4 separate regions of the Homo sapiens genome follow, and all the other regions are linked to region 2. Evidence: promoter capture Hi-C in human tissues and cell types (Jung and others, 2019). All regions are on one chromosome and are shown on one strand. The core of a region is centred on a gene start or on the middle of the fragment in contact, and the rest is flanking DNA. Distances in the headings are between cores, read along the strand shown. Region 1 has its middle 87 kb from the start of AGTPBP1. Region 2 holds the start of C9orf153 (chromosome 9 open reading frame 153). Region 3 has its middle 89 kb from the start of NAA35. Region 4 has its middle 66 kb from the start of AGTPBP1.

Evidence for each region. Contacts are between HindIII fragments. The study calls those that stand out against the background at their distance.
Region 1: a contact is called between a fragment that was not itself captured here and the fragment with the promoter of C9orf153 in region 2, in 2 of the 25 tissues and cell types used here (mesenchymal stem cells and stomach).
Region 3: a fragment that was not itself captured here is called in contact with the fragment with the promoter of C9orf153 in region 2 in 2 of the 25 tissues and cell types used here (bladder and dorsolateral prefrontal cortex).
Region 4: a contact is called between a fragment that was not itself captured here and the fragment with the promoter of C9orf153 in region 2, in 1 of the 25 tissues and cell types used here (mesenchymal stem cells).

The regions. Positions count from the first base shown.
Region 1 is chr9:85,826,176-85,831,731 of GRCh38, reverse strand. It overlaps the pseudogene LOC389765. Among named protein-coding and RNA genes, the nearest start is that of AGTPBP1, 87 kb to the right of the region's middle. The HindIII fragment of the contact is 3,736 bases long and covers 1,647-5,382 here.
Region 2 is chr9:86,258,407-86,264,765 of GRCh38, reverse strand. It overlaps C9orf153 (chromosome 9 open reading frame 153), which reads left to right and starts at 5,109. Exons shown (of 4, transcript NM_001276366.4): 1 at 5,109-5,216. ISCA1 (iron-sulfur cluster assembly 1) reads left to right here. Exons shown (of 4, transcript NM_030940.4): 4 at 1-220. It also overlaps the pseudogene RN7SKP264. The HindIII fragment of the contact is 6,872 bases long and covers 1,540-6,359 here.
Region 3 is chr9:85,849,153-85,854,649 of GRCh38, reverse strand. No RefSeq gene overlaps it. Among named protein-coding and RNA genes, the nearest start is that of NAA35, 89 kb to the left of the region's middle. The HindIII fragment of the contact is 4,000 bases long and covers 1-3,327 here.
Region 4 is chr9:85,805,341-85,811,170 of GRCh38, reverse strand. It overlaps a transcript of AGTPBP1 not described here and the pseudogene LOC389765. Among named protein-coding and RNA genes, the nearest start is that of AGTPBP1, 66 kb to the right of the region's middle. RefSeq lists silencers at 5,148-5,557, 5,588-5,830. The HindIII fragment of the contact is 9,468 bases long and covers 1-5,830 here.

The DNA.
Region 1 (5,556 bases), core at 2,265-4,764, 430 kb after region 2:
GTATCCTCAGAGGAAACAATTGAGGAAAGGAAAAACTTATTAAATAGAGAACAAATACCATTAACCATAAAGGAAAAGATTGATGAATTTGATTACAATAACTCTTCATCAAAGATACCACTGAGAGTAAAAAGCAAGCCACAGAAAAATTATTTGCAATCATGTAAGTGACAAAGCGCTCACACCCAGAATATACAACAAACTCTACAAATTAATCTAGAAGACAGGTAACTCAATAGAAAAACAAACAAGAGACTTGAATGAGTACTTCACAAAGGAGGATATCCAAATAGCCAAAAACATATGAAAAAAATGCTCAACCTCACTAGTCATCAGGGAAATGCAAACTAAAGCCACAATAAAATGATACTACATGCCTACCAGATTGGCTAAGATTTAAAAATTAATAACAAATGTTGAGAAGCATATGGAACAGTGAGAATGCTCACATGGAATAGTGAGAATGCTGGGTGGGAGTATAAAGCGGAAAACAATTTGGTAACACCCACAAAAGTTGAAGATATACCTACCCTATGGCCTAGCAATTCAACTCCTAGGCACAAATCTGAAAGAAATGTATGTGCATGTGCACCGAGAGACACTGAAAATTCACGAGAAAATTTCACAGAAAGCCACAAATGTCCATCAAACAGTAGAACAGAAAATAAATTGTGGTATAGTCATACAATAAAATCCTATGTACCTATAAAACTAAACAAACCACAGTCACACATTACAGATAAAATATTAGAATTTACAGAAAAAATATTACAATTAAAAAGTGGATGAATCATAATAATGTTCAACAAAAGCAGCGAGATACTGAATAAGCTATACTGAATTAATAAAAATTCCAAAAACTAAACTGTAGTGTTGAAGGATACATATTTAGATAGTAAAACCATAAGAAAAGCAAAGAAATGATTACCATGTAAGTCAAGAGACTGGCTCTCTGAGGAAGAGGGAGGAATAATAATTGTAAGGAGGCACTAAAAATTTTGAGGCGCTGGCAGTTAGCAATTTCTTGACCTGGTGGTGGTTACCCAGCTGTTCTCTCTGTGATAAATCACTGATTAATATGTATTGTTTTGTATATACTTTAGTTTTATGTTTTTAAATTATTATACAATTAGGGCCAGGCATGGTGGCTCATACCTGTAATCAATCTCAGCACTTTGGGAAGCTGAGGTGGTAGGATCACTGAGCCCAGGAGTTCGAGACCAGCTTGAGCAACACAGTGAGACCCCGTCTCCACAAAAAAATCAGAAAATTAGCCGGGCGCGGTGGCATGCACCTGTGGTCACAGTTAGGAGGCTGAGGCGGGAGGATCACTTGAGCCTGGAAGGTCGAGACTGCAGTGAGCTGTGATTGTGCCAGCGCACACCAGCCTGAGCAACAGAATGAGATCCTGTCTCAAAACAAACAAAACAACAACAAAAACAAACAACAACAAAATACAATTAGAAGGGTTAAAAAAGAAAACAAAAATCAAACAACATGAAAATCAAAATCTGATGTGTGCTGGATCAGATTATTTCTCGGAGCATTAGTTATTCCCTGATAGGAAGCTAAAGGCTTTAAATGATATTAACTATTTGGGGTGATGGGAGAAGCCACAGCCAGGGAGTATAATATGTAGAGGCATACTATGTTATACTGTAGACATATCCATGTTAATATAATAGGAAAGCTAAGATAGAAAATTTGAAAGATGTAAGCAAAGTTAAAAAGCAAACCACTCACGAGGTATAAGAGGATAATTTAATACATTTTAAAGTTTAAATTATGTATTTACCATCCAACTCCTAACAATACTGCATTTCCTAATACCTTGGCAAACAACAGGAAGGAAAAGTATGGAAAAATAACCATGGTATGATTTATAAATTAATTTCCTGGGTATTATCTTTATATTTCTAAAACCAAAGTCAGGCTAACAATAAAAATGTTTCCATTTAAGCAGATTTAAAGGAAAAATTAATAATTCTCTCAGGTGCCTATGTTCAGAAGTCTTCAAATGAACATCCTTTTTTTAAGTTCCCATTTATCATTTAAAATGCTACTGTGTTTAGTTAGGTACTATTTCAAGAAAATCTACAGAGCTAGATGCATTAAGAAACTCTACCTGCAGTCTATTCACTTTTTGCGCTTCTTTCAAAGATACAGCATGCCCTTTGTTTTCCTGTACCATCATCTGCACTTGATTCTTCAGTTCCTTAACCTCCAGTTCCTTCTGATTAAATACTACTTCATCAGCAGCAAGCACACACTAGTGGGGAAAGAAGGCACAAGTGACATTCACCATGGAAAATAATCAAGAAACCCCATATGATAACACAAAAATGGTGATTTGATTATAGCTTGATGATGTCTCATAAATTTTTTTTCATTTTCAACTTTTTCTGATTTCTTTCTAAGAAAGGCAGAAAGAGTTCAGAGAACCTACCATTGCTATAACACAGGAATTCATTACCATGAAGACAGAAGATTTTCCTGATTTTTACTTCCTGTATATAAAAACTAGTTGTTTTGGTTCTAGAGTACCTTCACTAAGATTTTTACAAGTTTGCTAGAACTGCTATGAGATTTTAACGTGGATCACTCAAAGAGCTCACATTTTCCAAATTGACATATAGGGTTATAAGAATACATTAGGGCATTTGAATGAAGCAGATTTGCTGATTTTGTACACTTTCATTATGAAGAGATATATTTTGAAGATGTCTAAAAATGATTAAACAGTTTTACTTTTTGGTTTCTAGTAAATTTGCCGATTTTTAAGTACATTTGGGATATGTAAATAATAAAGTAGTTTTTAAATGAAATAAACAGAAAATTATTTGTCGAGAGCCTCATTCCACATATTGGCTTGGCATTTTAAAAATCTCACTAAATAAGATGTTGGTGTGGATGCGGTGATCAGGGAACACTTCTACACTGCTAGTGGGAATGTAAACTAGTACAGCCACTATGAACAACAGTGTGGAGATTCCTTGAAGGACTAAAAGTAGAACTACCATTTGATCCAGCAATCCCACACTACTGGGTATCTACCCAGAAGAAAAGAAGTCATTATACAAAAAAGATACTTGCACACGCATGTTTACAGCAGCACAATTCGCAACTGCAAAATTGTGGAACCAAACCAAATGCCTATCAATCAACGAATGGATAAAGAAACTGTGATTGATATATATATATATATATATATATATATATATATATATATATATATATATATATATATATATATATATATATCTATATCACAACTCCTATATAAACCAACTCCTATATGTGTCCCAACATTCAAGCTTCCAATTACCAGTACTTCCTGTTCCACCAGTTTCTTATACTAATGAGGAAGGGCCTGCTCTACCTAGACAGTTATTACCTTTCAGAAAAAAAAAGAACTAAAAAAAAGATTTAAGAAGTATTACCTTACCTGTTTTTATGCTATTATTTATTTATTCATTTATTTTTAGAGACAGGGTCTCACTCTGCCACCCAGGCTGGAGTGCAGTGGTGCAATCATAGCTCACTGCAGCCTTGAACTCCTGGGCTCAAGTAATCCTCCCACCTAAGCCTCCCGAGTAGGTGGGACCACAGGCGTATGCCACCATGCCTGGCTAGTTTTTTGATTTTTTGTAAAACAGGTCTCATTTTGTTTCCCAGACTGGTCTCAAACTCCTGGGCTCAAAACAATCCTCCAGCCTCAGCCTCCCAAAGTGCTGTGATTACAGGCATGAGCCACTGTGCTGGCTGAGACTAGTACATTTTAATGTACCGATCTTAATGTAACAAGATAGTTTCAAATCTCATATTTCAAGTAACTAGAAATTTCTGCTTGTTGAGTTTGGTGTAATAGGAAAGAAGAACATCCACAATTATCTGAAAAAATCAGTGAAATACTCCTCCCTTCAAACTATGCAATTATGAGGCTGAATTTTCTTTACAAACTTCAACCAAAACATATTGCAACAAACTGAATACTGAAGCAGATATGAAAATCCAACTTTCTGTTATTAGGTCAGATGTTAAAGAGATTTGCAAAAATGTAAAGGAATTCTACTCTTACTAAAATTTTTTGTGTGTTGGCCAGGTACGGTGGCTCATGCCTGTAATCCCAGCACTTTGGGAGGCCGAGGCGGGCGGATCATGAGGTAAGAGATGGAGACCATCCTAGCCAACATGGTGAAACCCCGTCTCTACAAAAATACAAAAATTAGCTGGGCATGGTGGCATGTGCCTATAGTCCCAGCTACTCGGGAGGCTGAGGCAGGAGAATTGCTTCAACCTGGGAGGCGGAGGTTGCAGTGAGCCAAGATCACGCCACCACACTCCAGCCTGGCGAGAGAGCAAGATTCCATCTCAAAAAAAAAAAAAATTGTTAGAAAATATTTTTCATTAAAAATGCCCTTTATATTAACATGTAATTGGGTTACTGTTAGTTTTGAATGAATAAATAGCTTAGATTTTTTCAGTTTTAATTCTAACACAGTAAATATCAATAGATATAACCCACATAAACAAAAGCTCTTTGAGGGATCTCGCTTTAAAAGTGTAAAGAAGTCATCCTGTGATCAAAAAGTTTGAGAACTTGAGCACTGCTGCAACAGAGGATAATACAAATGCCTTCTTTATAATATTACATGTAAAAAGGCTTTGAGGAAATATTTCTAGCTAGATAGAGAAATAAGCTTAGAGCCTAAAAAAAAGGAAATATACTTAACTATATTTCCTTTTTAACTAAAAAGCTATCTTTTTAAGTTTTCCTATTTTGAAAAATGGACAGAACCATGGAAGCTGGGAACCATGTTATCTCAGGAACAACTGAAGGACCATTCATTTGCTCACTAGCTTGCAAACTCCACCCAAGCAAGCAGTAACTAGGTGTGTCCTGTCCTCCACTATTCCCACGACATACAATCTTCACACAATAGTTTCTGAATGAAAAGCGGGGAAATGTAAATCTGAACTCAATACATGTACATATAACATGTATACATGTACATGCCTACATTCCTTAAACATTAATAAATATGCTAATTTGTTGGTTTTTTTAAAAACCTATACTCCAAACACAAGAGATGAAGTAATTTTTTCTTTCAAGAACTACTGACCGACAAAGGGAGAAAAACTCAGTAAAAGATAACTTAAGTTTTATTTCTGAAACAAGTTTATTTTCAGTCTCTAAATTGACAACCAGATCCACCGAGTTCTATTTAATAAATATAACAAATTAAAATACACTTTAACCGAAGGAGAAAGGAAGAGGAGCCAAGAAGGGTATGAATTGTGAGCAGGAAGCAATATGAAAGGGGAGGGTAGAAAGAAGGAAGTAAGAGACGCAAGTGGGATCTTTTTTTTTTTTTTTTTTTTGAGACGGAGTCTCGCTCTGTCCCCCAGGCTGGAGTGCAATGGCGCGATCTTGGCTCACTGCAAGCTCCGCCCCCTGGGTTCACGCCATTCTCCTGCCTCAGCCTCCCGAGTAGCTGGGACTACAGGCACCCGCCACAACGCCCGGCTAATTTTTTTGTATATTCAGTAGAGACG
Region 2 (6,359 bases), core at 3,860-6,359:
TCTCATGAATTCAAGTAGCTGAGTTCCTTTATGTTTCGTTTATTCACTAAAGTAGCTGACACAAAACACACCAAAACCTAGAGCGGTAGTTTTATGTAAATGCTCATGAGTTTGTATCAATAATATAATTGTTGATCCACTTATAATTCGTGCAACACTGTATGTATGTAGAGATTGAGTTGTCAATTAAAAAAAATGTGGCCTCTTTGTGATCATAAAATTGCCTTTTATTATTGAGGGGAGAGGGTTTGGGACAGCAGCTGCTAAAGCCAATAAAAAAATGACTGTCTTTTTTGCCTAGGCTGCCTGTCACCAGGCGTCCTCCCTACCTGACACTGTTTCGTCCAGAGTCCTAGCTGCTGATTCTCCACACAGCCCTGGAGAGACCATCTCAGGTGTCTCTCATCTCCCTGGCTTTGCTAGCCTCTTTTTCCTCCTTGTTCCCCATGAGGGTCATCCATCCCCCAAGCAGGTTCCTCATGTCCTTAGGACGAGAGCATTATCACTACCTGGAGTGCTTTTCCCTCTGTCATCTGAGCTTTTATGTGAACCTCCTCCAAGAAGGTTCTCAGCTGTTCACTCAGGCACAGTAGTGAGCACTGACTCTCCACTAGCCCTGAGCTTTCACAGGTCATCAAAGACAGTCCCAACCTCAGAGAGCTTCAAGTCGGCAAATGAGACACCAGCGAAGAGCATCGATCACCATGGTAAGTGTTGTGAGCAGCTGGTGGTGATGGCATGCTCACTGCATGCCAGGAAGTGTTCTAATAAACATCATCTCAGCAATCGAGAATGCAGGTCTGACTACTGTCTTTTTCATAGATAAACCAAAACACAGCTTAAATAAAATAGCTAAGGTGGCCAAGTCAGAATCGTACCCTGTGTCTATGGCTCCAGATGCTGTGCTCCCAGCTGTTAGGCCATACTGCGTGTCCTGATAGAACCAACGGAGTGCGCTTCTAAAAAGGTAGCCTACAGGTTATGACCCCTGCGCCTAGTTGAAAGAGATTTGGGGAAGAGGGAAGACAGTGAACAGTACTAAAGAGGGTTGAAAAAACACAGAGGGCGTGTTCTCACTCATAGGTGGGAATTGAACAATGAGAACACTTGGACACAGGGCAGGGAACATCACACACCAGGGCCTGTCGTGGGGGAGGGATAGCATTAGGAGATATACCTAATGTAAATGACGAGTTAATGGGTGCAGCACACCAACACGGCACATGTATACATAAGTAACAAACCTGCACGTTGTGCACATGTACCCTAGAACTTAAAGTATAATAAAAAGTAATAATAAAAACACAGTGAAGCTAAGCACTCCGGAGAATGAGGCCCGGAGAGGAGCAGTAAGGCTGGAGGGCAAGGTAGATGCCTGGGGCGTTTGGGCTTTCTGCAAGTTCTGTAGGCCTTGGGGCCACTGAAAGTGTTTAGGGGCACTCATTAGAAAATTGCATTTGGAAGTGTTTCCATGGCCTGGACTAGGCTGGCTGATGAGGACAGGAAGAAGCTACTGCAAAGCCCGCTATAATAGGACCTGAGCAGGGACCCGTGAGAGAAAGGCTTAGGAGGCAGAAAGGATGGTACTCTATCCGTAGCCCAACCTCATCAGCCAGTGTTCTGTGACTCATTTCTATTTGTACAGGCAGTACTTGTACTGTTCATTGGTTTTGGTTCTTGTCTCTTGTACAATATTGAAAGGATCTTGGAGACAGGAACGCAATTGCTTCTTCAGTGTTCGTTTAGCATCGGGCAGGTCAGAATTATTTTTGCAAAATGGCTCCATCCTACGGCCATGTCACACCATGTCATGCAAGCCTTAGCCCTCACCAGGAAGGTTCTGTCTGTTGCACCACATTCATCCACATTCTACTCACAAACACTGGTCATTGTGTTAGGCGATTTGGTAGTGCCCCTGGGTGATGTGTAGGCCAGCAGATCTGTCGCTTAGCAGCAGACTTCAGGCTTTTCATGATCAGTTATAAGCCCACTCTTCCACATCAGGATGCTAAATTGAATGAATCAGGCCATGAGGACAGAGGCCTGCTGTGCTTCATTGTTGCAGGGCGCCTCCCAGCCCTCTGTCACCGGACCCACCAGAATGATTTTTTTTTTCTCAAACAGGAAAGGGTTGGGAACAATCCCTACAAGATCAGATGTCCCTAAGATTTCCAGTATTTCCTAGGTTTCACTCAGCAGGAAATACCTCAAAAAAAAAATGGCCTTTCTTGTCATGTTTTGATACCTGAGAAATCAGGAAATGGAAAAGCCTGTGCTAAGCTGAGCTGTAAGCAACATCAGTGTCTCATTTGAGCCTTAGAGCAGACGTGGCATGGGCCAGACACAGCATCGACCCAGAATAAACCCAAATACAGCTCACCTGAGCTCAGTGCAGGCTGGGAGGCTGGCCTGGAAAGGTGTAGGTTTGGGGTGAGATATGCCTGGATTTGAATCATGGTTCCTGTCATTTTGTAGCCATGTAACCTTCTGTAAAACAGTCTCAGAATTTGGGGGGATGTGATGAGCTAACTACACATAAATGGCATCCTGCTAAGGGTAGACGTTTCATACGTTGTAATTCTTGTCCCTTTTAGCCATTTTCTTGTGCAAAAAGGGATAATATGTTAATGGATTATCAATCAAAGCAAGAGCTTAGGGAAAGAGTTTCAACACATTTAGGGAGTTATTGTCCCATATTCAAATCTGGGGGAAATTTGCTGTATTTCCTTCAAATAAAAGACCACAGTAACTTCTTTGAAAAGAACCATAAATTTCAAATATAAACATTCGGAGAAATTTCATTCTCTTAGTAGCTGATTAACTATAGACAAACCTGCCTTAATTGAGGAGCTGTTTTGAAAGCTCATTCCCCAGTAGGAACTCAATCTCCTGGTCCCAGGTGGGTCTCATCAGACAAGAGATGGAGGAGAGAGGGAGGTGCACCCTAGCCTCAGCCTCTATTGAAATACAGAGCCATGTGGTGGTTACATCACTGTGGACTCCCATCCTCCCTTGCTGCTGTGCAGTGTTCAGGGAAGGCTTCATTTCACACCAACCTTTAGCGGGGCAAGGGCTCTGTACCAGCGGTACTCAGCTTAAAACTAGCCTACTTTGAGGGCCTTGATGGGTTACTGCTTTTACTTCCACTAGCTAGTGATTCCGAAACTTTTCATGATGAAGTGCCCATTTATTGGGCCAGGTGTGTTGGCTCAAGCCTGTAATCCCAGCACTTTGGGAGGCAAAAGTGGGCAGATCACCTGATCCCAGGAGTTCAAGACCAGCCTGGGCAACGTGGTAAAACGCCGTCTCTACAAAAAATACAAAAATTAGCTGGTCATGGTGGTACATGCCTGTAGTCCCCGTTGCTCAGGAGACCAAGGTGAGAGGATCACTTTAGCCCAGGAGGTAGAGGTTGCAGTGAGCCAAGATCGTACTACTGCACTCCAGCCTGGATGACAGAGCAAGACCCTGTCTCAAAAAAAAAAAGAATAAAAAATAAAGTACTCATTTTTTGTTCTCCATGGATTCTATGTCTTGAAGCAGTCCTCAAACTTTAAGGTGCAAATAAGTCACCTGGGGGTCTTGTTAAAAAGCAGATTCTTGGCCGGGCGCAGTAGGTAGCTCACGCCTGTAATCCAGCACTTTGGGAGGCTGAGGCGAGTGGATCACTTGAGGTCAGGAGTTCGAGACCAGCCTGGCCAACATGGTGAAACCCCATCTCTACTAAAAATACACAAAAATTAGCCAGACATAGTGGTGGGCGCCTCTAGTCCCAGCTACTCAGGAGGCTGAGGCAGGAGAATCACTTGAACCTGGGAGGTGGGGAGGTTGCAGTGACATGAGATGGCACCACTGCATTCCAGCCTGGGTGACAGAGCAAAACTGTCTCAAAAAAAAAAAAAAAGCAGATTCTGTAACAAAGGTCCAGGGCAGAGCCTGAGATTCTGCATTAGTAGCAAAGGCCCAAGTGAAGCCAGTGCTGTTGCTCTGCAGAACACCTTTGAATGGCAGGCTTTTGAAATATTTTCTCATTGGAAGAATCTTCTGTATTTATTAAATTCTGCTTAAAATTATTAACTTTCTTGTATATCCATGTTCATAACAGCATTATTCACAATAGCCAAAAGGTAGGAACAACCCAGGTGTCCATTGACAGGGGACAGGGGGTGAGAAATTTATTTCATGGACACAGATTCAGGTGGAAAAGATGAAAAAGCTCTGGAGATGGAAGGCAGTGCAGGTGGCACAACAATGTGAATGTACTGAATGCCACAGAACTGTGTACCTAAAACGGCTTAACACGGTAAGCTTCATGTTATGGATATGTTGCCACGGTGTTCACAAGTTATTAACTCAATCAGACTATTTAAATGCCCAGTAGATTGCATTCTGGGGAAATGGCTGTTTCAGGAAAATTTTCAGTGATTGCCACAGGGACCTCCCATGGGTGGGGAATGGAGTCTGGAGCACGGCTGCATGGCTCATGGAGAGAATTTGCACAGCCAGGTAGCCCCTGGTCCACTTCTACCCATATCTGGCCAGGTGCAAAGAGCATAGCTGTACCTTCTATTATCTCTCTCAATTTCTTATTTGCACTTTGCCCATGTCTATAGAAGGAAAAACTTGACTGATTAAAAATTACATTCACGGCACCTGTAGTCCCAGCTACTCAAGAGGCTGAGGCAGGAGAATGGCGTGAACCCGGGAGGCGGAGCTTGCAGTGAGCTGAGATCGTGCCACTGCACTCCAGCCTGGGCGACAGAGTGAGACTCCATCTCAAAAAAAAAAAAAAATTATACTCACGCCAGCCTGGGCAACATGGCGAAACCCCATCTCTAGAGAAAAATACATAAATTAGCCAGGCGTGGTGGCGTGCGCCCGGGGTCCCAGCCACAAGCTGAGGCAGAAAAAAAAGTAGCTACTCAGCTACTCAATGTTCACTCTTTAAAAATGCTTTTCCATCATCCTCCACCGTCTCCCACCCCCCACCAAGCAGCAAGATAATTCCCCATCGCTTAGCATCATATAGCTGCTTATGTGACCTTGAGAATGTCCACATGTCACAATGGACAGTCACTTAACACTAAGCAATGACACATGCTAGGAGTGGGGCTGGGCCTTGGGGCTGCTGGATGAATGAGACCCAGCCTCTGCCCTGGGAGTGCAGAGACTCAAGACAGATATGACCACGTGAAGAGACAACTGTAAAACAAGTGGTAAGTGCATCTACAGCCATAGCCACGGGGCACTGTGAGACCACAGAGCAGTGAAAACTAAGCCAGTCTAGGCTTGGCAAGGAGAGATGGAGTGAGGTGGGCAGTGGCTAAGGTGGGAAGACCAGAGCTGGGAGGTGAGATGGGATTTGGGTTTATCTTTACCAATAAGGATGAGGAGCCTGTTTCATCTTCCTCCAGGCAGGTCACAGAAGCTGGAACCAGTTGATCGGGCCGAGCCTGCAGACTCCCTCATCCTTTCCGGCCTTCAACACTGATAGCTCTGCTCTCTCTCCCCAACCTCAGTGCCTTCATCCTCCCCTGTGTTCCCATGGATGCTTGGTCCTGACTTTGCACCTCTCCCTCACACCCAGTGTCCTTTGTTTTTCCTCTGCCACTTGGGAGGCTGATGGGAGGATCACCTGAGCCTGGGAGGTTGAGGCTGCAGTGACCTGTGTTCACGCCACTGCACTCCAGCTGGGGTGACAGAATGAGAGCCTATCTCAAAGAAAAAAAAAAAACACTGCTCTGTATGATACTATCAAAGTGGATATATGTAATTGCACATTGTGAAATCTCATAGAATGCACAACACCAAGAATGGACCGTAATGTAAACTGTGAAGTATGGGCTTTAGTTAGTAACCATGCATTGATACCGGCTCATCAAGTATAACAAACGTACCACACAAACATAAGTAGTAAAAAAAAAAGGGGAAAGCTGTGTGTATGGTGCAGAGAAGGGGGGTTGTGGGAACATTGTACTTTCTAACCAATTCTAAAATTGCTCTAAAATTTAAGTATATTAATATTTTTAAAAAAAGTTTCGTTAAATTAGCAATATAATAGTTGCTTACCCAAGAAAATTCAGGTTTTCAAATATTGCGTTTTAAAAGCAATTATTTCCGGATGTGAGGGTGATCTGGCTGCAACATCTGTCACCCCACTGATGGCCAGGGTTAATTTGTCTGATCTGGCTGGCTAGGTGGATGTCTCCTTCCTCCCTCATCCGTCCACATGCGTCCTTCCAGACGCTGCGGACAACCTTCCCCAACAGAGGAGGGCCGTTCTTTGGGCAAGGGTATATGAGTAGCTGCACTCCCCTGCTAGAACCTCCAAACAAGCTCTCTAAAAGTAATTACTTCAA
Region 3 (5,497 bases), core at 78-2,577, 410 kb after region 2:
TTCCTTTTCATTTCAGTAGGTTTTTGGGGAACGCGTGATGTTTGGTTACTGGATAAGTTCTTTTGTGGTGATTTATGAGATTTTGGTGCACCCATCATCACCCTAGCAGTGTATGCTGTACCCACTTATAAGTGAGAACATATGATGTTTGGTTTTCCACTCCTGAGTTACTTCACTTAGAATAATAGTCTCCAATTGCATCCAGGTTGCTGCTTATGGCTGAGTAGTATTCCACGGTATATATATACCACACTTCCTTTATCCACTCATTGGTTGATGGGCATTTGGACTGGTTCCATATTTTTGCAATTATGAATTGTGCTGCTATAAACATGCAAGTGTAATGTGTTAAGTGTCTTTTTCATATAATAACTTATTTTCCTCTGGTAGATATCCAGTAGTGAGACTGCTGGATCAAACGGTATATCTACTTTTAGTTATTTAAGGAATCTCCATACTCTTTTCCATAGTGATTATACTAGGTTACATTGCCAACAACAGTGTAAAAGTGTTCCCTTTTTACCACATCCATGCCAACATCTATTATTTTTTGATTTTTTAAATTACAGCCATTCTTGCAGGAGTAAGGTGATATTACATTGTGGTTTTGATCTGCATTTCCCTGATAATTAGCAATATTGAGCATTTTTCCATGTTTGTCACTTGTATATCTTCTTTTGAGAATTGTCTATTCATGTCCTTCGCCCATTTTTTGATGCAATTATTTGTTTTTTTCTTACTGATTTGTTTGAGTTCTTTGTAGATTCTAGATATTAGTCTTTTGTTGGAGGTATAGATTGTGAAGATTTTCTCCCGCTCTGGGTTGTCTGTTCACTCTGCTGATTTTTTTTTTTTTTTTTTTAATGAGATGGAGTCTCGCTCTGTCGCCCAGGCTGGAGTGCAGTGGCGTGGTCTCCGCTCACTGCAAGCTCCACTTCCTGGGTTCACGCCATTCTCCTGCCTCAGCCTCCTGAGTAGCTGGGACTACAGGCGCCTGCCAACATGCCCAGCTAATTTTTTGTACTTTTAGTAGAGACGGGGTTTCACCATGTTAGCCAGGATGGTCTCAATCTCCTGGCCTCGTGATCCGCTTGCCTCAGCCTCCCAAAGTGCTGGGATTACAGGCATCAGCCACCACGCCCAGCCTGATTATTTCTTTCTCTGTGCAGAAGCTTTTCGGTGTAATTAAGTCCCATCTATTTATTTTTGTTTGTTTTTTATTGCATTTGCTTTCGGGTTCTTGTAATGAAAGTTTTTGCCTAAGTCAATGTCTAAAAGAATTTTTCCAATGTTATCTTCTGGAATTTTTATGGTTTCAGATCTTAGATTTAAGTCTTTGATCCATCTTGAGTTGATTTTTGCATAACAGGAGAGATGAGGATCCAGTTTCATTCTCCTACACGTGGCTTGCCAATTATCCCAGCACCATTTGTTGAACAGGTTGTCCTTTCCCCTACTTTATGTTTTCATATGCTTTGTCGAAGATCAGTTGGCTGTAAGTATTTGGCTTTATTTCTGGGTTCTCTATTCTGTTCCATTAGTCTATGTTCCTATTTTCATACCAATATTATGCTGTTTTGGTGACTATAGCCTTGTAGTATGGTTTGAATTTGGGTAATGTGATGCCACTTGGATAAATTCTTTAGGATAAATTCCTGTAAGTGAATCAAAGGGTATGCCAAATTTTAAAGCTTTAGATTTGGCAGGAATATTTAAGTTCCACTTCATAAACAAAGAATGTGAGGGTGGCCAGGAACAATGGCTCACACCTGTAATCCCAGCACTTTGGTAGGCTAAGGTGGGTGGATCACCTGAGGTCAGCAGTTCGAGACCAGCCTGGCCAACATGGTGAAACCCCATCTATGTTAAAAATACAAAATTAGCTGGACATGGTGGTGCATGCCCGTAATCCCAGCTACTTGGGAAGCTGAGGCAGGATAATCGCTTGAACCTGGGAGGTGGAGGTTGCAGTAAGCCGAGATTGCACCATTGCACTGCAGCCTGGGCAACAAGAGCAAAACTCCATCACACACACACACACACACACACACACACACAGAATGTGAGTGAGGGTGTAGTGGTTTATATGTATGGATCTTTAAACACTTATTTATTCTACATAACTGCAACTTTGTACCATTTGACCAACATCTCCCCGTTTCCCCTATCAGCATTTCCCTATTTCCCACTCTGACTGATTTTTGATAAGGGTGCCAAGTCCATTCAATGGAGGAAAGAACAGTCTCTTCAACAGATGCTACTGGTACAACTGGAGTTCCACATGCAAAAGAATAAATCTGGACCACTACTTCACACCATATATAAAAACTGACCCCAAATGGACCAATGACCTAAATATAAAAGCAAAAACCATAAAACTCTTAGCAGAAAACATCAATCTTCATGACCTTGGATTTAGGCAATGGATCTTAGACATGACACCAAAAAGCACAAGCAACAAAAGAAAAAAATAAATTGGACTTCAACAAAACTAAAAATTTCTGCATATCAAAGGATATTATCAAAGTATAAAGAAAACCTACAGAATAGGAAAAAGTATTTGGAAATCATGTATCTGATAGAATTTAATGTCAGAATATATAAAGAACTCATACAACTCAACAACAAAGACAAAGAACCAAATTAAAATGTGGACAAAGAACCTGAATAGACATTTCTCCAAAGAAGATTTATGAACAGCCAATAAGCACATGAAAAGATGCTCAACATCATTAGTCATTAGGGAAATGCAAACCAAAACCACAATGAGATACAACTTCATCCATCCTGGCTAACACAGTGAAAACCTGTCTCTACTAAAAATACAAAAAATTAGCCGGGCGTGGTGGCGGGTGCCTGTAGTCCCAGCTACTCGGGAAGCTGAGGCAGGAGAATGGTGTGAACCTGGAAGGCGGAGCTTTCAGTGAGCCGAGATCATGCCACTGCACTCCAGCCTGGGCAACAGACACTCTGTCTCAAAAAAAAAAAAAAAAAAAAAAAAAAAAAAGAGATACAACTTCATACCTACTCGGATGACTATAATAAAAAAAAAGGAAAGAAACAGGTGTTGACAAAAGTGTGGAGAAATTAGAACATTCACACATTGCTGGTGGAAATGTAAAATGATGCTGCTGCTATGGAGAACAGTGGTTTCTCAGAAAGCTAAGCACAGATTTACCATATAACCCAGAAATTCTACTCCTAGGTACATACTCCTAGGTACATACCCAAAGGAATTGAAAACAGAGACTTATTTGTATGCCAGTGTTCACTGCAGCATTATTCACAATAGCCAAATGCTAGAAACAACTCAAGTGTCCATTGATGGATGAATGGATAAAGAACTGTGGCATATCCATACAATGGAATATTACTTGGCAATAAAAGGGAATGAAGTTCTTGTACATGCTGCAATGTAGACAAACCTTGAAAATATTATGCTAAATGAAATAAGGCTGACACAGAAGGTAAAATATTGTATAATTCTACTTATATGAAGTATCTAGAATAAGCAAATTCATAGAGAAAGTAGATTAGAGATTACCAAGAGCTGGGGGAAGGGGAAAATGAGGAGCTATTCCATAATATTACAGTGTGTCTGTCTGGAGTGATGAAAATGTTTTGGAAATAGATAGTGGTGATGGTTGCACAAGATTGTGAATGTAATTAATGCCACTGAATTATACACTTAAAAAACAGTTAAAATGGGTTGGGCACGGTGGCTCACACCTGTAATCCCAGCACTTTGGGAGGCTGAGGCGGGCAGATCACCTGAGGTCGGGAGTTCAAGACCAGCCTGACCAACATGGAGAAACCCCATCTCTACTAAAAATACAAAATTAGCCGGGCGTGGTGGTGCACGCCTGTAATCCCAGCTACTCAGGAGGCTGAGGCAGGAGAATCACTTGAACCCAGGAGGCGGAGGTTGCGTTGAGCCGAGATCACACCATTGCACTCCAGCCTGGGCAACAAGAGTGAAACTCCATCTCAAAAAAAAAAAAAAGGAAAAAAAGTTAAAATGGTAAATTTTATGTTATATATATTTTACCACAACTTAAAAATTAATAATAAATAATGAGTAACTTGGTTTAATTGCTCTTTAAGTTCCCTTCCATTGCTGAATTCTGTGATTTTTTTTTTAAGGTCGGAAAATAGGTTATATCCATTGTTGAAAATCTAGGAAATCTGGGGCATACTGATAACAGGAGAGGCTAAACATGTGCAGGGACAGGGAGTATATGGCATATCTCTGCACCTTCCTTTCAATTTTGCTGTGAACCTAAAACGGCTCTAAAAAAATAAAATCTTAATTTTTAAAATATCTAGGAAATCTCCAATTATGTCCCATGCCTTGGGTTCAGCTTAACATTTCAACGGAACAGAGCCTGGCACATAGTACTAGATAAGCGTCTGTTATTATGATCATCATCATCTTTTTCAAAAAAGCCCTGTGGGACAAGTAGGATTAAGGCCATTTTAGATGAGAATAAACAGACTCAGAGAGGGTAAAATTTTTGAGAAATTTGAGAAAATTTATTTTCTCAATAAATCTCTCAGCCAGCAACTGAGTGAGCTAGGATTTGAACCGATGATAGCCTGGTCAAAGAGCCTAGGCTGACACCACTAAGTTCTTCCCCAGCCCAATCTATTCTAGAACTGCTGTGCATACAGGTCTGATCATTTTTCTGCTCACTGTGAATGAAATGGTACCACTTTACCTGGTACTTTTTCCGTGTAGCCACATGGACAATGCATGTCAAAGCACTTTGAAAACAGAAAATCCTATTCAAATGATAGGTATTATTTAGAAAGCTGGCTTTATAAATGCATGTTTTTGGCAGCTTCAATTAAAGTTAGGATCCTCCTAAGAGAAATTATCATTGTACCTTCTTTTGTGAAGTCAAAGCCTTCAAGACAGTACTCAAAATTCAATAAATAGGTTTTACTATGTAGATGAACAAAGCTTTAAAGTGAATAAGGACAGCAGTGAAGGGCAAGTCAAGGATAGATACTTCACAAGCCAACTGAATGAAGACCATGGATTCGTTAGCTCTGAGCCGTTTAACATTTCATATTATACTTAGCAGGAATGTATGACAATATTACTTTGATTTTTTGCTGGTCCCGCTTAATTACTGCATCCAGTTGCTTCCTTTTTTCATTTTCTTCTTGTAGTTTTCTTTGTAGCTGTATCTTTTGATATTTCATGTGATCTACACTCTGCTCTAGTTCATTAGCACGTTTCTCATTTTGGATTGACAGTGATGCCAGTTTCTTACTATCTTGTTGCTTCTTCTGTAAGACCTGAGATCATATGGAATATTTCAAAATGAAAAACTGAATCTCTCACAATCCTCAACTAAACTTAATCTTTTCATTTGATGGTAAAAGAAGAAATTTTCCCTAGATTTTCATTTATTTTTGACAGGTTCACAAACAATTGCTTACTATCATACATTTCCATTTTTGCAATTAGGGAAACCATCATAATTTGCAT
Region 4 (5,830 bases), core at 1,912-4,411, 450 kb after region 2:
GATGAAACAACTGGAAGGGTTCAATCATCTGAGCTATGCTATACTTAAAAAAAAAATAGCCAACATATCAACACATCATCTACTTCAACAGCCTTGACAGAAATCTACATGCTATGTCAAAAGGTACAATGACCAGTACTTCAGAAGTAGAAGAGAAGGAAATGTAATTTTAAATGAAAGAAGGGAATAAAACTTAATATGAAAATAATCCCCAATTTGTAAATATGTCTATTATTCATACACATACCAAAATGAAGAAAGAAATGCATGGGATTACTCACTATGCTTATTTTCCTTTCTATAGTTTTTACTATTTCCCCAAATATTCTACAATGACTATATACATATATATATACACACATACATATATATACACATACACACACACACACACACACACACACACACACACATATTTTTTTTTTTGAGACAGGGTCTTACTCCCACACCAAGGCTGGAGCAGTGGTGTGATCACGGCTCACTGCAGCCTCAACTTCCTGGTCTCAGGTGATTCTCCCACCTTGGCCTCCGGAGTACCTGGGACTACAGGCACGTGACACCATGCCTGGCTAATTTTTTGCAGAGACAGGGTTTTGCCATGTTGCCCAGGCTGGTCTTGAACCCCTAGGCTCAAGCAATCCTCCTACCTCAGCCTCCCAAAGTGCTGGGATTACAGGAATGAGCCACCATGCCCGGCTCTACAATGATATTAGTTCTTAAAAAAAAAAAATCTCAAAAAGAAAAAATGGTTATCTATACTCAAGTTGAAAAAGTTAAGCATAATGTAATCAATACAATATTGATTTTTTTGCCCTGTGTCAAAATTTAGAAAGGGCAACTACAGGTCAGAATTGACAATGAGACGCCTTTGGCCATTCACATCAGTGATGGACAAGTCAAATGACAGAGAGCAACTATCGAAGACTAATATGTTGCATACTTTTAAGAGAACATTATCCTCGTTAACTAATTTTTCAGAATTTTCAAAAAGATAGTCATGTTTTGCAATCCGGGAATTCCTCCGTAACTTTTTTTTTTAATCTTGATAAGAAGAAATAAATAGGAAGACTACGAAAACATTAGGCTTTTAAAAGATACTATATTTCAGGTCATGGCTAGGGTTAGTATTCCTTCAGTCTTGTGTCCTAAACTTCTGCATCTCCACATACAGTCACATCTAAGAGATGTTAGGATAAATAGATTCAAACACAGCTCTTCTCCCTCCCTCTCTATACTTTTTCTCTTTCAAATACACTTGGTCTTTAAAATTTAGATGCTTCTATGCTCAGACATTTATATACACATAATATAATTAAGGCATACAATGCAAATGAAAATACAATGGACTGCCAATTAAGTTACATACATTAGTCTATGAATATGGTGGCTAATACTGTATATTAAACATTTACATATTATTAAAATACTACACAAATCAGGTTTTTGGTGCAGAAATCTAATGATTATTTTATTTACATTTTCCCCCTCTTCCCTTTGAGTTCCTTTGAAAAATAATTTCAAGGATATCTTGGCTCAGTGGTGCACACCTGTAATTTTAGCAACTTGGGAGACTGAAGCATGAGATCACTTAAGTCCAGGAGTTTGGGACCAGCCCAGGCAACATAGCAAAACCCTATCTCATAAAATAAATGATAAAACTAATTTCAAGGATAATGCATAGTTGAAGGAAGACAAAATAAATTCACAAGATAATTTTAAAAACAGAAATGTTTCAGGGCAAAATGTGAAATAAACACACATTCTCAATATGCAGGCAGTTCACCATAAATATATCTTCTACTCTCTTCCATAATGTAATGACTACCACTAGTAAAAACTATTAATTTATACTTAAGATGGCAGCAGGCCAGACATGGTGGTTCATGCCTGTAATCCTGGTACTTTGGAAGGGCTGAGGTGGGCAGCAGATTGCTTGAGCCCGGGAGTTCAAGATCAGCCAGGGAAACATGGCAAAACCCCTTCTCTACAAAATGTACAACAGTTAGCAGGCATAGCGGTGCACGACTGTGGTCCCAGCTACTTGAGAGGCTAAGGTGGGAGGATCACCTGAGCCTGGGGGTCGAGGCTGTAGTGAGCAGTGATTGTGCCACTGCACTACACCTTGGGTGACAGCCTGAGACTCTTTGTCAAAAAAGAAAAAGAAAAAAAAAAGATGGCAGCAGTGTCAAAAATATAACAGTCTCTATTTTACATATACTTCATACCCAAAAAGCCAACTATTTGACTTATTAAATGTAATAGCATGCGTTAGGGCTTTCTCTAGCAACCCTCTTTCTTCAGATTTTGCATGTACTCCAAGAAAAAACAACTTGAAATTTCTTGAACACACAGTTTACTTGTTCATATCTTTAACTATGCTGTTCTCTTTTATCTACAATGCCATCTATCTCTTCCACTGAAAACTTCCATTTATTCCTCAAAATCCTGCTCAGGTGCTAGCATATCTGTGAAGCGTTCTCTGACCTGTTCCTGAAGTCAAACATTCCCTCCTCGGTAATATTTCCATACTTTAAACTTACTATTATTGAATGGACTCCAAAAAAATTCTCTTTATTGTTGTGTCTAGCCCTATGATCCTGATTTCAAGATCCTGAAAGACAAGTTTCTATCCCTTACAAATACCACAGGACCTGGCACATAGAAGACACATTTATTGAACTCAGTGTTTTCTTCATGTTTACATTCTTCAAGTACACAGCTGTCTATGCAGTGAAAAATGTGCTCTACAAGTAGAAAAAGAAATATGTGAAGTGCACAATAGACAATCCTCAATTCCCATAATGCAGATGTGCATGAGCAATTATTAGCAGTTCAAAGTTGTTTCATTACGGTAAGTACTATTCTAACAAACTAACTGCCCCAACCAATTTTGTCTAGGAAGCATATATGGTTTTAAAGTGTTGATTTACGCCAGCTGGGCATGGTGGCTTACGCCTGTAATCCCAGCACTTTGGGAGGCCAAGGCGGGCGGATCACAAGGTCAAGAGATCGAGACCATCCTGGCCAACGTAGTGAAACCCCATCTCTATTAAAAATACAAAAACTAGCTGCGAGTGGTGGCGCACGCCTGTAGTCCCAGCTACTCGGGAGGCTGAGGCAGGAGAATCGCTTGAACCAGGGAGGTAGAAGTTGCAGTGAGCCAAGATTGCGCCACCACATTCCAGCCTGGCAACAGAGCGAGAGACTGTCTCAAAAAAACAAAAAACAAAAGTGTTAATTTAAGAGAATTAGGATGCATCGGTTGCTTACGTAAACTCTTCTAAAAATGAATAGCCTAAGCTACAAGCAGGAGAACTTCTTTTTTTTTCTCTTTGTGTATACATGGGGTCTCACCACGTTGCCCAGGCTGATCTCAAACTCCTAAGCTCAAGCAATCCTCTAGCCTCGGCCTCCCAAAGTGCTGGGATTACAGGCATGCACCACCAAGCCTGACCCAAGCAGAAGAATTCCTAAGTGGCTGGTAGTCTTGGCCTCTATCAAGGTTTGGAGGCACATTGCCATTATGACCTTACCCTCTACACTATGACCTCACTAGAATCAAGACAGACAGCAGCAGCCATATCTCAGTCCAGAAGACCACAATTAGGGAGCTTCAAAACACACACACACACACACACACAATTATATATATAAAATCCTTAAATCAAGAACAACCAAATATATCACTTTTTATGAGATGAATGATAGCCATCTTCTATTAACACTACCAATTAGCCTGACCAAAAAAAGGTATTAATGTAGATGCCAATTAGTGTGGCCTCACTGAAATATAACTTAGATTGAAATTAACTGAGCGTAATATGAAATGGCACCAAGTATCACTGATTTAACACCTGGTGAAATAAAAAATTGTGTTATTTCATGTTCTGTTCTTCAAATAACCAAACAGTATCTTTCACTTTGGCTTCTTAAAAATTAGCGTTCACAGGCCAGGTGTGGTGGCTCACACTTGTAATCCCAGCACTTTGGGAGGCAGAGGCGGGCGGATCACAAGGTCAGGAGTTCCAGACCAGGCTGGCCAACAAGGCGAAACACCATCTGTACTAAAAATACAAAAAAAAAAAAAAAAAATTAGCCAGGCGCCTGTAATCCCAGCTACTCAGGAGGCTGAGGCAGGAGAGTTGCTTGAACCTGGAAGGCAGAAGGTGCTGTGAGCCGAGATCGTGCCATTACACTCCAGCCTGGGCAACAAGAGCAAAACTCCGCCTCAGGGAAAAAAAAAAATACAGTTCACAATCAGCAAGTGTGAAGTGCATACTAAAACTCTGCTCCAAACACACTTACTGTAAGTGATGTAAACCCAATGGGTATGCCCCAAACTCCATTTTTTCCTCACAGTTAAGTACTGAGACCCCTCTCCAATCTGCAGCTCCCACTTTCTGTAGGCCAAGAAAGTTAAACAAAAAAATACAAGCAGGTACTCAGTGAGGACCTGAGGGATTCTCCCACGAGTAAAATACATCTATTTTCACACAAGGTTCTTTTGGTCAACTTCTGGGTTTTGCTCTTACTCCAGAATTGAAGCTACTATAGTGTTATAAATCTGTTGAGAAAAGAAATCTAGATTTGTATGAAGATCTTTAATATTTTAATTTGCCAAAAAGCTTCTCAAATATTTTTATAGCTACAAGTCACATTTATTAAGTGATTCCAGTTACAATCCCAAGCACATTTACTACACAACAGGCAATGCTAAATGTTGAAGAAAAGTGTCTCCAGCTTTTTAGTGTAAGACAGACGATCTTTCATTAGTCCTTCTAATGAAAGCATTAGCATCTACTCTGAAAAATCTGGCGAAGGTAAAGAGTGAAAAAGAGGAGGAAGAGAAAAGGCAATCAGCCAATTTGATAAACTATTTTTGTCGTTACTGTTCAATATTTATGAAGCACCTTAATGCTCGAAATCTGACAAAAATTCGGTAAGGCTGTTCCAAACAATAACAGAAAAAAAAATCACTTTTCAATAGCTGGCGGGGGAGGACGAGGAGCACTATATTCAAAAAGTAATTCACTATACCTCATTCATGAATGAAAGCCAAATTTCACCCATAGGCTGTTAACCGATGCTCCGAAACTTATTCGCAAAGTACATAGAGAAAGAAATTGCGCTGGGCGAAACCTAACTCGGCCAGAGAAGCGGCTTCAAAACCTGAAAGGGAGAAAACAACGAGTCAGGTCGTTGCTCCAGAAATTTCCGAGCGCCTGGCTCCCCGGGAGGGAGTGCGGGCGCCAGCGGCGGTGAGGGGACGGTGGCACCTGTCACTCGAGCGGCCCCCACGGAGTCTCGGGAGGCTCAGCGGTCGCCGGCCTGGGAGTCGGGTGCGAGTCCCTCCCCGCCGCCCCGAGCCTTGCGCCGAGCGTAGGGCCGCGGCCCCTTCCGCGGAGCGGCCCTCCCGTGCCCTCTGCCCAGCGGCTCCGGCCAGTGGGGCCCGTCGCCTCAGGCCGAGTCCCCGCCACCCTAGGAGCCGAGGGGAGCGCTGTCGAGCCGCTGCTTACGCCTCCGGGGTTCCGGAGCGGACACCCGCGAGGCGGGCCCGCCTCCGCGTACTCACCGGGCCTCCCGGGCCGCCGGCTCGGCCCTCCTCTCCCTCCTCCCCCCGCCGCCGCCTCTCCCGCGGCTCCCCAGGCGGCCGCACTGGGCGTTGGGACTGGTCTGGGTCAAGTGTCGGCAGAGCTGGGGGCAGGCTCGCGCCGGGCGGGGGTCGCGGTCGGCCCACAGGCTGGGCACTAACGGGTCCCGGGGCGCCGGGGCGGACTGCGGCGGTGAGCGCGGCTGCAGGCCGCGGTGAGGGGCGGGAAGAGCGCAGCTG